Regions from separate parts of the Homo sapiens genome. Here region 1 is linked to region 2. Evidence: promoter capture Hi-C in 16 types of primary human blood cells and fetal thymus (Javierre and others, 2016). All regions are on one chromosome and are shown on one strand. The core of a region is centred on a gene start or on the middle of the fragment in contact, and the rest is flanking DNA. Distances in the headings are between cores, read along the strand shown. Region 1 overlaps LOC105371143 (a long non-coding RNA gene). Region 2 holds the start of ERN2 (endoplasmic reticulum to nucleus signaling 2).

What was found. Contacts are between HindIII fragments. The CHiCAGO score rates a contact against its expected background, and 5 or more counts as called.
Region 1: a fragment that was not itself captured here is called in contact with the fragment with the promoter of ERN2 in region 2 in 1 of 17 cell types (total B cells); the score reaches 5.1 in total B cells.

Annotation. Positions count from the first base shown.
Region 1 is chr16:24,488,389-24,494,059 of GRCh38, forward strand. The region is part of intron 1 of LOC105371143 (a long non-coding RNA gene); the gene reads right to left. Among named protein-coding and RNA genes, the nearest start is that of RBBP6, 48 kb to the right of the region's middle. The HindIII fragment of the contact is 5,778 bases long and covers 1,314-5,671 here.
Region 2 is chr16:23,711,874-23,717,472 of GRCh38, forward strand. It overlaps ERN2 (endoplasmic reticulum to nucleus signaling 2), which reads right to left and starts at 1,349. Exons shown (of 22, transcript NM_033266.4): 1 at 1,222-1,349. The coding sequence starts at 1,314. The HindIII fragment of the contact is 14,517 bases long and covers 1-5,599 here.

The DNA.
Region 1 (5,671 bases), core at 2,953-5,452, 780 kb after region 2:
TCAACTAATTGTCTGCCTCAGCCTCCAAAGTAGCTGGGACTATAGGCATGCACCACCATGCCCAGCTAATTTTTTATTTTTTTAGTAGAGAAGGGTTTTTGCCACATTGGCCAGGCTGATCTTGAACTCCTGGCCTCAAGTAATCTGCCTGCCTCAGCCTCCCAAAGTGCTGGGATTACAGGCATGAGCCACTGCAGAGAACAGAGGCTCTGTTCTTTGTGTGCGTGTGTGACTTTTTTTTCTTTAGTCTTTTTTCTCTGTGTCTGAATATTTCCCATAGCCTATGCCTTCATAGTGTCTAATTTGCTATTTGCTCCACCATTGTACTGTCATCTCTTGAAGTTTAATTTGGGTCTTTTTTCTCTGTCTCCTATATCTCTCATTAACATGCTCAGGCCTCCATCTTCTTGAGTATATTTCTTTTTTTTTTTTTCCTCTAAACTGAAAGTGGCTTTATTCAGGATTTGCTGATCATAAGAACAAAGATCTCTCCAACTGTCTCAAGAAAATAGGGACTAATTGTAAGAGTCCATGTGGTTGGTGCTAGAATCAAGACAGCTCTGAGGCCTGGGGAGCCCTCTCCATGTCTCTCCTGGAAAGCCCAGCCCCTCCCTCAGGAGTCTCTGCTCTTTCTGTGCATCTATTCCCTGTATAGAGCATATTTCTAATAGCTGTTTTAATGTCCTTATCTACTAATTCTATCATCTGTAACATCTTTGGTTCTGTTTCTATTGGATGATTTTTTTTTCACGATTGGGTCCTACTTTTCTGCTTCTTTGCATGCCTGGTAACTTTTTACTGGACTTCAAACATTATGAATTCTACATTGCTGAGTGCCGACATTTTTTATATTCCCATAAATATTTGGGAGTTTTGTTTTAGCATGCATTTAAGTTATGCGAAACAGTATGAAACTTTCAAGGCTTGCTTTTCAGACTGTTAGCCAGGTCCAAAACAGCCTCTAGTCTAAAGTTAATTTGGCCACCAGTGAGACAATATCCTTCTCAGGACTCCATTCAATGTCCCATATATGAGGAGGCTGATATGGTTTGGATATGTGTTTCCTCCAAATCTCATGCTGAAATGCAATCCCCAGTGTTGGAGGTGGGGCCTAGTGGAGGTGTTTGAGTCACGGGAGCAGATCCCTCACAAATGGCTTGGTGCACTCCCCGTGGCCATGAAAAAGTTCTCACTCTGTTAGGTCATGCAGAAGCTGGTTGTTTAAAGGGGCCTGGCATCTCCTCCTCTCTCTCTTGCTCCCTCTCTCACCATGTGATGTGCCTACTCCCTTTTTACCTTCCGCCATAACTGAAAGCTTCCTGTCACCAGAAGCTGAGCAGAGGCTGGTGCCATGCTGCTTATACAGAATCCTGAGAATCCTGAGCCAAATAAACCTCTTTTCTTTATAAATTACCTAGCCTCAGGTATTCCTTTGGAGCAATGCAAAATGGACTCATGGAGAGGTCTTTCCTTTCTGGTCAGTAAGAACACAATTCCCGATCCTATGTGAGCTCCACCTGGTCCTTCTTGGTGGTCTTTCCTTGGCCTCTGGGAGTTTCTTCACAGGCGTGTACTGATCAGTACTCAGCTAAGAAATGGAGGGGAATGCTCTAAACAGCTCCAAAATCCTTTCTGTGTGGTTCACTCCCTTGCCTTGGCCTCCCCAGACTCTCAATGCAGGGACACTGTCGTATTCTGTTGTGTTTCTCCTCTCTGCATCAAGACCTGTGGCCATCAAAAGACTTAGCTATTTCCTTTCTTTCAGGATCTCTGTATTGTGCTATCTGTGGTTCAATGTCCGGAAATTATTGTTTCATATATGTCATCGGGTTTTTGAGTTGTTTAAAGCAAGAGAGTAAATCTGGTCCCTCCCAGTCTGCCATGGTTGAAAACTGAAGTCTCTGAAGCCAGGATCTGAACCCAGGGAGACTGACTCCTCAGCTTCCTCCCCATCCCTTATCAATCCTTCAGTTCCTTCTCGTGTTTATTCAAATGTCACATCACTACTGAGAGGTCTTTGCACACCACCTCAGCCCCAGCTGCACTCCCTGTCCTCCCTGTTTCCCTCCAAGGAATGAAAGCTCCACAAGGGCAGGGACTTTCGCTTTTGATCCTAAAGACTGAGGTCCGGCACGTGGCTCACACCTGTAATCCCAGCACTTTGGGAGGCTGAGGCAGGTGGATCACCTGAGGCCAGGAGTTCGAAACCAGCCTGGCCAAGATGGTGAAATCCAAAATACAAAAAAATTGCTGGACATGGTGCCACATGCTTGTAATCCCAGCTACTCAGGAGGCTGAGGCACAAGAATTGCTTGAACCTGGGAGGCAGAGGTTGCAATGAGCTGAGATCGTGCCAATGCACTCCAGCCTGGGTGACAGAGTGAGACTCTGTCTCAAAAAAAAAAAAAAAAAAACACTGAGGCTTTGGTCCCATCCCCCAGGAGCCTGAACTGCATGTTAGAACAGAATCTTGAGCTTATGACATATTCAATACATGATTTTTAAATGAATACATAGCATCCTCTGCTCTCCATGCTAACATGCAGGTCAGGTTTACTTAGTGTAAGCAGATAGGGAGGGTCTCCAGAGATTACAAGAATTTAATGAACTTGAGCAATCAGCCTGTTTTATAGCCTCCTGCCCTGAAGTCCTTTTCTTCCTAAACCTTGTATGGAATGCAGTCACCTAATCAGTTAAAACCAGCTCCTGGCAGACTCCCACAACTTACAGATGAACCCAAGTGAACATTCCTCATTACCATGCTAAAGTCTCCACCCCCAGAGGAGCTATAGCTTCATTACCTTAACATGCAACCTATGTGCTGGCATGATAGCTCAGCGCATCTGCACAACTGAGACCCCACTACACGCAATGCTGCACCCTCTCCCTTCTCTATTACCCCATAAAACTCGCCTATCACTTTCCCTTGGGAAGACACTGCTTTGGAGAATACTCTCAATGTTCTCCTTTACTTGTATCAAGTAATAAAACTCCTATTGATCCAAACCTACATCCCTATAAAGAGTCTTTGTTACTTGCCTGATGAAGAACCCCAGTTTTGTTTTGTTTTGTTTTGTTCTTTGGGATGGAGTCTCGCTCTGTTGCCCAGGCTGGAGTGCAGTGACGCGATCTCAGCTCACTGCAAGCTCCGCCTCCCGGGTTCACGCCATTCTCCTGCCTCAGCCTCCTGAATAGCTAGGACTACAGGCGCCCACCACCACACCTGGCTAATTTTTTGTATTTTTAGTAGAGATGGGGTTTCACCGTGTTAGCCAGGATAGTCTCGATCTCCTGACCAAGTGATCCACCCACCTCAACCTCCCAAAGTGCTGGGATTACAGGTGTGACCCACCTCACCTGGCCAAGAACCCCAGTTTTTTAGAACAACATTAGCATCTGTGCTCTAGAAAACATCCCACAATGGGCAAACCAAGGACAGATTCTCCACTAAAAGAGAACAAAGCTCATTTCCCCAGGAGAGATTAAGTTGGAGCTGGACACAAATAGCCCTGGGCCTTACAGCCATCTTCTGACATTAGTCACGGGAGTGAGGTCACCCCAGAACACAGAGGTTCAGAGCTCTAGAGCTCCACTGTCCATTGCAGTATCCATGGGCACATGTGGCCATTGGGCACTTGAAATGTGGTCAGTCTGCATTAAGTTGGGATCATTAGTATAAATTACACCCCAGTATTTTAAAAAACTTTAGTATGGAAAAAGAAAATAACGATGTTTTATATTAATAGCACACTGAAGTAACAGTAATTTAGTCATATTGGGTTAAATAAAACATTATGAAAATTGTCAGCCGGGTACAGTGGCTCACGCCTGTAATCCCAAAACTTTGGGATGCCGAGGCAGGCGGATCACTTGAGGTCAGGAGTTTGAGAACAGCTTGGCCAACATGGCAAAACCTCCTCTTTATTGAAAATACAAAAATTAGCTGGGCGTGGTGGGGGGCACCTGTAATCCCAGCTACTCTGGAGGCTGAGACACGAGAATCACTTGAACCCGTGGTAGGGGGTTGGAGGTTGCAGTGAGATGAGATTGTGCCACTGCACTCCAGCAGCCTAGGCAATAAAGCGAGACTCCGTCTCAAAAAAAAAAAAAGAAAAAAAAAAAAGAAAATTGTCATGGGTGTCTTTTATTTTTTGGTTGGAGTCAGTGGTGTGATCATATCTCACTGCAGCCTCAGCCTCCTGGGCTGAATCCATCCTCCCACCTCAGTCAGCTAATTTTTTTTTTTTTTTGAGACGGAGTCTCAAAATTTTTTAATTTTTTGTAGAGACAGGTTTTGCTATGTTTTCCAGGCTGCTCTCAAAATTCTGGCCTCAAGTAATCTGCCCTCCTCGGCCTCCCAAAGTGCTAGGATCACAGGCGTGAGCCACCGTGCCTGGCCTCATATTTATTTATTTATTGAGACAGAGTCTCACTCTGTCACCCAGGCTGGAGTGCAGTGGCACGATCTCGGCTCACTGTAGCCTCTGCCTCCTAGGTTCAAGCGATTCTCCTGCCTCAGCCTCCCAAATAGCTGGGACTACAGATGTACGCCACCACCCCCGGCTAATTTTTATATTTTTTTAGTAGAGATGGGCTTTCACCATGTTGGCCAGGTGGGTCTTGAACTCCTGAGCTCAGGCAATCTGCCCACCTCCACCTCCCAAAGTGCTAGGATTACGGGCTTGAGCCACCATGCCCAGCTATTTATTTATTTTTGTGGAGACAGGGTCTCACCATTTTGCCTAGGCTCATCTTAAACGGCTCAAGCAATCTCCCACCTTGGCATCCCAAAGTGCTGAGATTACAGGCATGTCCCACCACGCCGGCCTCTCTTTACCTTTCTAATGTGGCTAGCAGAAAGTTTAAAATTACATGTGTGGGTCAGATGACATTTCTCTTGGGCAGCACTTCCCTGGACAGGCAGTGTATCCCAGAAAGGCAGACCTGGGCTAGCCACAGAATCTTCAACCCCATCCCCAAGACTTGAGGCTGACAAGAAGTAAAACAAAGTGAAGGTGGAGGAGATGAAAAATGGGATGCAAAGAAACAGATGTGATATAGTCCATCTTTCTCTCTCTTTTTTAAAATATAGACTGGGTCTCACTGTGTTGCCCAGGCTGGTCTCAAACTCCTGACCTCAAGCAATCCCCCCAACCTCAGCCTCCCAAAGCACTGGGATTACAGGTGCAAACCACCATGCCTGGCCATCTTTTTTTATTTTTTAATTGTGATAAGAACACTAGGGGCCAGGTGCAATGGCTCACACCTGTAATTTCAGCACTTTGGGAGGCCAAGGCAGAAGATCGCATGAGGCCAGGAGCTCAAGACTAGCCTGGGCAGCATAGCAAGACCCCCATCTCTTAAAAAAAAAAAAAAAGAAAAAAGAACACAACATGAGATCTCCTCTCTTAACAGATTTTTTAAGTGTCCAATACATTCCTGCTGACTATAGGTAAATGTCATACGGCAGATTTCTAGAGCTTATTCATCTTGCTTGACTGGAGCTTTCTGCCCATTGATTAGTAACTCCCCATTTTGCCCTCCCCCAGTCCCTAGCAACCACCATTCCACTCTTTGATTCCGTGCATTTGACTATTTTAAATCCCTCCTATAAGTGGAATCATGCTCGGTACTCTGACGCCCTTTCCCGCTCACTCCTTCCCCACCCCGT
Region 2 (5,599 bases), core at 99-2,598:
ACCAGCCCAGCTGGTTTTGGTGCCAGGCTCCAGTGGGTCCCTTGACCCAAGGCTGGGGGGTGCCCTTGGGAGGGGGGCTGGAGCCACCCGTACTTACATCTGGCGATCCTGGGCTCACTCACCTGCTCCAGTCCCTCCTTGAGCAAACAGGGTGAGGCTGAGCTCCCAGCAGGAGGCCTAACATCCGGGTGGCCCAGCCGCACCCCTACAAAGGCCACATCCTGCTTCAGGACCCTCAGGTTTGGGGCTGGGCCACTGGTGTTGAGTGGAGGGTCAGGAAATTATCTGCTAGCCCCTCTTTCTTTCTGGGCTTCAATTTTGTCATCTGCAGCATGGCAGGAGGGAGAACGGTTTGGAGAAGAGGCTGCAGATTGGTTGCCCAGAAATGAATTTTGTTTGACCATCTAGTGCTTAAAAATTTTTCAATTAGCTGCCAATTTTTTTAAAAATTGGATGATTTCTACAAAAAAACCAAGATTTCAAATCTTTCTCATTTCTAATTTTTCCAGAGACATCCGATCTGGCCACACTGGGCTTGCATTCTTAGCTGGCAACCATGAGGTGGACCCATGAGGTGGAAGCCGGGAATGAGAGGTGCCTAACTCTACCTGATCGCTTTTGCCCCATGGGGGTTCTAGGCGGGACACCTGGATTCTTAGGCCAGGCGACTTTTGCCTCCTGGCTGCATTTCTGTAAGACTCTGCTATTCCTGGCACCGTGGGAGCAGATACTGACACTCCCAGCTCATTTATCCCATAGGTTCTGAACCTGGGGTGCAGCCATGGGTAAGGGGACCGTATTGTAAAGCCTCTGAAATTGCAAAACTGGGCGTGCAGGCTCATTTCTCAGCAGAGGGCCCTGAAGTCAATCATATTTTCAAAGGAAGCCAGGATTCCCAGAAGTTTTAAGAGGCCTGGCTTTCGTGCCCAGGTGCCCCCCTACCCCAGACTACACCTCTCCCTGCTGAAGAGGCGGGGTGCTCTGTCTACTCTTGCCTTTCCACGCTGGCAGATCTCCCCAGCTAGGTATTTGTTGGGGGCAACTGGCGGCTCCCCAAACCCAGGAGGCTTTTACTCCGTTGGGGCCGAGTTGGGACCACCCAGGCGTGAGGGAGGGAGAGGTGCCCCCGTGGCCCCGCCGCGCCCTCGCCCCAAGTGCGACGCCGCCCCCTGCGCCCCGCGACCAGACTTTGGGGACTTGGCGTCGGTCCCTGGCTCTCACCTGTGGACTCAGCGTCCCGAGCAGCAGCGCCGCGAACTGGAGCTGGAGCCCCAGCCGGGGCCACGGCCTCGACCCCCTGACCGCACTCGCCATAGCGCCTGGGCAGCTGCACGGCTGGCCAGGTCCCTGGGTGCCTCCAAGGGAGCGCTCTGTCCCCGCCCGACCCGGAGAAGGCTCCGCCCCTGGCTGGGCCTGCAACCCCAGCCTGGAGTCCTCGCCGATCCCCGCCCTTCTCATCACACTCCCAGCCGCATCCTCGCGTCCCAGTCACCCCACCAAACACGGTGGGGCGCTTTCCCGGGAGAGGGATTTTACTGAGCCCACTTATGGAGAACTTGCCACGTGCCGAGGACCGTGCCGGTTCATCATCAGTTCCTGGAGTCCTCACTGCACAGCAGGTACAAGCGGAGGCTGAGAGCCGCAGTCCCAATACAGATCCGCCTGATCTCAAAGCCTGCGCTCTTTATCATTGCACCAGCGGATCCCGGTGGGCTATCAGGAAATAGCGATTAATTGGTGAATTCAGTCGTTCGTTCAATAAATATTTATTATGGGTCAGGTAAGTGGCTCACCTCTGTAATCCCAGCACTTTGGGAGGCCTAGGAGGGAGGATCACTTGAAACCAGGAGTTGGAGACCAGCAACATAGTGAGACCCCATCTCTACAAAAAAAAATGGCCAGGTGTGGTGATGTCCACCTGTAGTTCCAGCTACTCGCGAGGCTGAGGTGGGAGGATTGCTTGAGCCAGGAAGTCAAGGCTGCAGTGAGCTATAACTGTGCCATTGCACTCCAGCCTGGGCGACAGAGAGAGACACACTCTCCAAAAATAAAATAAATAAATAAATATGCATGTATTTATTTTTTGAGACAGAGTCGATCTTGTCACCCAGGCTGGAGTGCAATGGCACTATCTTGGCTAACTGCAACCTTTGCATCCTGGGTCCAAGCAATCCTCCTCCCGAGTAGCTGGGATTAAAAATGTGGGCCAACATGCCCAGCTAATTTCTGTATTTTTAGTAGAGATGGGGCTTCACCACTTTGGCCAGGCTGGTCTCAAACTCCTGACCTCAGTTGATCCGCTCACCTCGTCCTCCCAAAGTGCTGGGATTACAGGCATAAGCCACCGCGCCCAGCCAATAAATATGCATTTATTATAAGCTATGACATGCCTGCCTGATGAACAAGATGATGAGGTCCCTGTCTTCGTAGAGCTTAGAGATTCCTATGCCTTAGATGTAAGACAACTCCGCATGGAAGGGCACCTTCTAATGGCCGTGACCACCCTTGCTCCTGGTAGATGTCTCCAGTTTTGTTCAGAGAGGGTCTGCCAGGGTCCTTGAAGGTAAGGTCCACCCTGTTTGCAAGTTTCAACTCATTCATGTCTCCTTCATCCTTGTGTAAAAATAAAAAAAAAAAAATCCCTGCTGATTTGAGGGTCATGCAGCCCAGCTCTGCCACCTTCTCCCCGTCCTCTTTGTCATCCTTGGCCCTCCTGGTCATCCCCTCACAGTTACTGAAAACTTGGTAGCTTGGCCCCTAGCCTTCATCTCCATCACAAATCCTGCCACTCTCCTTGGTGTCTTCAATGTCCAAGGTACAGCTTAGCCAGCATTGCAGCCTCTCAGTGGGTGTACCTCTTTGGAGACCTTATCCCCCACGCCACAACTGCACTGGGCCCTTGTCACACTCAGAACCACTTTAGTTCCAATGTCCCTTTCTCTGATTGCAGCCTCCTCTCCATGCAACGGTTTCACCCTTTCATTCTCCTTATCCCTGTGCCCTGACCTACACGGTACCTTCATCCCTCAGTCTCTCTTCCACTCTGTCAGCCCCTTCCTTGTCCTTATCCTGCTTGGACCTCCTAGCTGACCATCTGAAGGAACTACACCACTGTCTTAGGCTGGGTTGAAACAGGTTGGGATTTTTGTGAAAGTTATTTCACACTAAGCCATACCAGGTTCAGAAGTTCAAGAGCAGCCTGGGCAACATAGCAAGACCTCAGTCTCTACAAAAAATAAAAAATAAGCCAGGCACGCTGGTGTGCACTAGTAGCCCCAGCTACTTGGGAGGCTGAGGTAGGAGGATCCCTTGATTCCAGGAGATCCAGGCTGCAGGTAGCACCACTGCTCTCCAGCCTGGGCAACAGAGTGAGACCCTGTCTCTAAAAAACAAAACAGGCTGGGCGCGGTGGCTCATGCATGTAATCTCAGCACTTTGGGAGGTCGAGGTGGGTGGATCACCTGAGGTCAGCAGTTTGAGACCAGCCTGGCCAACATGGTGAAACCCTGTCTCTACTAAAAATACCAAAATTAGCCGGGCGTGATGGCGCATGCCTGTAATTCCAGCTACTTGGGAGACTGAGGCAGGAGAATTGCTTGAACCCAGGAGGTGGAGGCTGCCGTGAGCCATGATCGTGCCATTGCACTCCAGCCTGGGCAACAGAGTGAGACTTTGTCTCAAAATAAATAAATAAATAAAAAACAAGACAAAACAAAACAAAAACAAAGAAATATGTACATTATGAAGTCTTTAGTTTACTTGGTTGCTCTTTCATGCTTAGCTGTTCCAACACCCCTAAATTGGCCCAGTACTCCTAACTTTATAACAAAAGTGATTGTTTGCCATTGTAGAACCTAACCCAAGCTATTGAGTGTGTGAATGAACCCTCCTTTCTGCTCTATATTTTGTACACTCTGCATTGTTTTGAAATGTACATTGTGTTTACTATGCTTGGATTCAGGCATTTCTCATGCAAAAAATTTGACTTGCATAAAATACAAACTGCAAATGAACTGGAATAAATTGTGTGTGTGTGTGTGTGTGTGTGTAATGATAAAAGCAATATACATTCTAGAAACTTTGTAAAATTCAGAAAAATTTAAATAAGAAAATATCTGGACAGGTGTGGTGGCTCACACCTGTAGTCCCAGCTACTCAGGAGGCTGAGGTGGGAGGATCACTTGAGCCTAGGAGCTGGAGGCTGCAGTTAGCTGTGACTGCACCACTGCACTCCAGCCTGGGCTAAAGAGCAAGACACTATCTCAAAAATATTAATAATAATCAGCTGGGTGCAGGGGCTCATCCTGTAATCTCAGCACTTTGGGAGGCTGAGGTGGGTGAATCACTTGAGGTCAGGAGTTCAAGACCAGCCTGGCCAACATGGTGAAACCCTGTCTCTACTAAAAATACAAACATTAGCAGGGCGTAGTGGCACATGCCTGTAATCCCAGCTACACAGGAGGCTGAGGCAGGAGAATTGCTTGAACTCGGGAGGCAGAGGTTGCAGTGAGCCAAGATCACGCCATTGCACTCCAGCCTGGGAGACAGATCAACACTCCAACTCAAAAATAAAAATAAAAAAAATAAAAAATAAATAAATAAAATTTTTTTAAAAAGTTCATTCATGGGTCCACCGTTTGAAAACAGCACCCCGTTAACATTCTGTCCTACTTCCGCCAATGGTTTCTTCTCCCTGTGCCTGTATGTATGATGGGATCCTATGTTCAAATATTTACATGTTTTTTCCACTCCAGAGTTTCCTTTTCCCCAACAGTCCTTCTCCCATTCAAGCAAGTCAGCCCTAAATTTTGTTACCTCAGCAAATGGATGAGAAAGCAGAAAGAGAAAATGAAAATTCTTCTAGTTTTTGAGTTTTCAGAAAACTCAGGTTAGGACCCTAGATTTGAGACAATAACCAGCCTGGCCAACATGGTGAAGCCTTGTCTCTACTAAAAATACAAAAGTTAGCCGGGTGTGGTAGTGCGTGCCTGTAATCCCAGCTACTTGGGAGGCTGAGGCAGAAGAATCACTTGAACCCCATAGGTGGAGGTTGCAGTGAGCTGCACTCCAGCCTGGGCAACAGAGTGATACTCTGTCTCAAAAAAAAAAAAAGATTTCAGACACTAAACGAGACTGGAAAAGATTTTCCCGACTTTGAGAGGAAGGAGAACAAGAAGGGACAGGGAGAAGCTGTTCCAGGTCCCCAAGGAAGGGAGACCCAGGCCTGCAGCCCCTCCCCTCATCCAAGGAGGGGACCCCATGTGGGTTTGTGGGGTCCAAGAGCAGAGGGGTTCTGCGTTTTGCTTCCTGGGGAGAGCCTGGGAAAGCAGGAAGACTCCAGAAGAGAAGCTGCATTCTGTATTGGGGCAGAGGGGCCCGTTAGAGGGGTCCCCACTGTCCACTGTGACATGGAGACGGGTGGGGATGTTTACCACATGCCTGAGTGCCTGAGAGTGGCTTGGAGGATGGAGTGAGAGAGAGAGAGAGAGAAAGATGATTAGTAGAGATAAAGAGAAAACATGCATGTTCACATAGAGATGGAGAATATGCGTGTTGAAATCAGAAAGAGAGAGAGAGAACATGTGTGCTCAAAATAGAG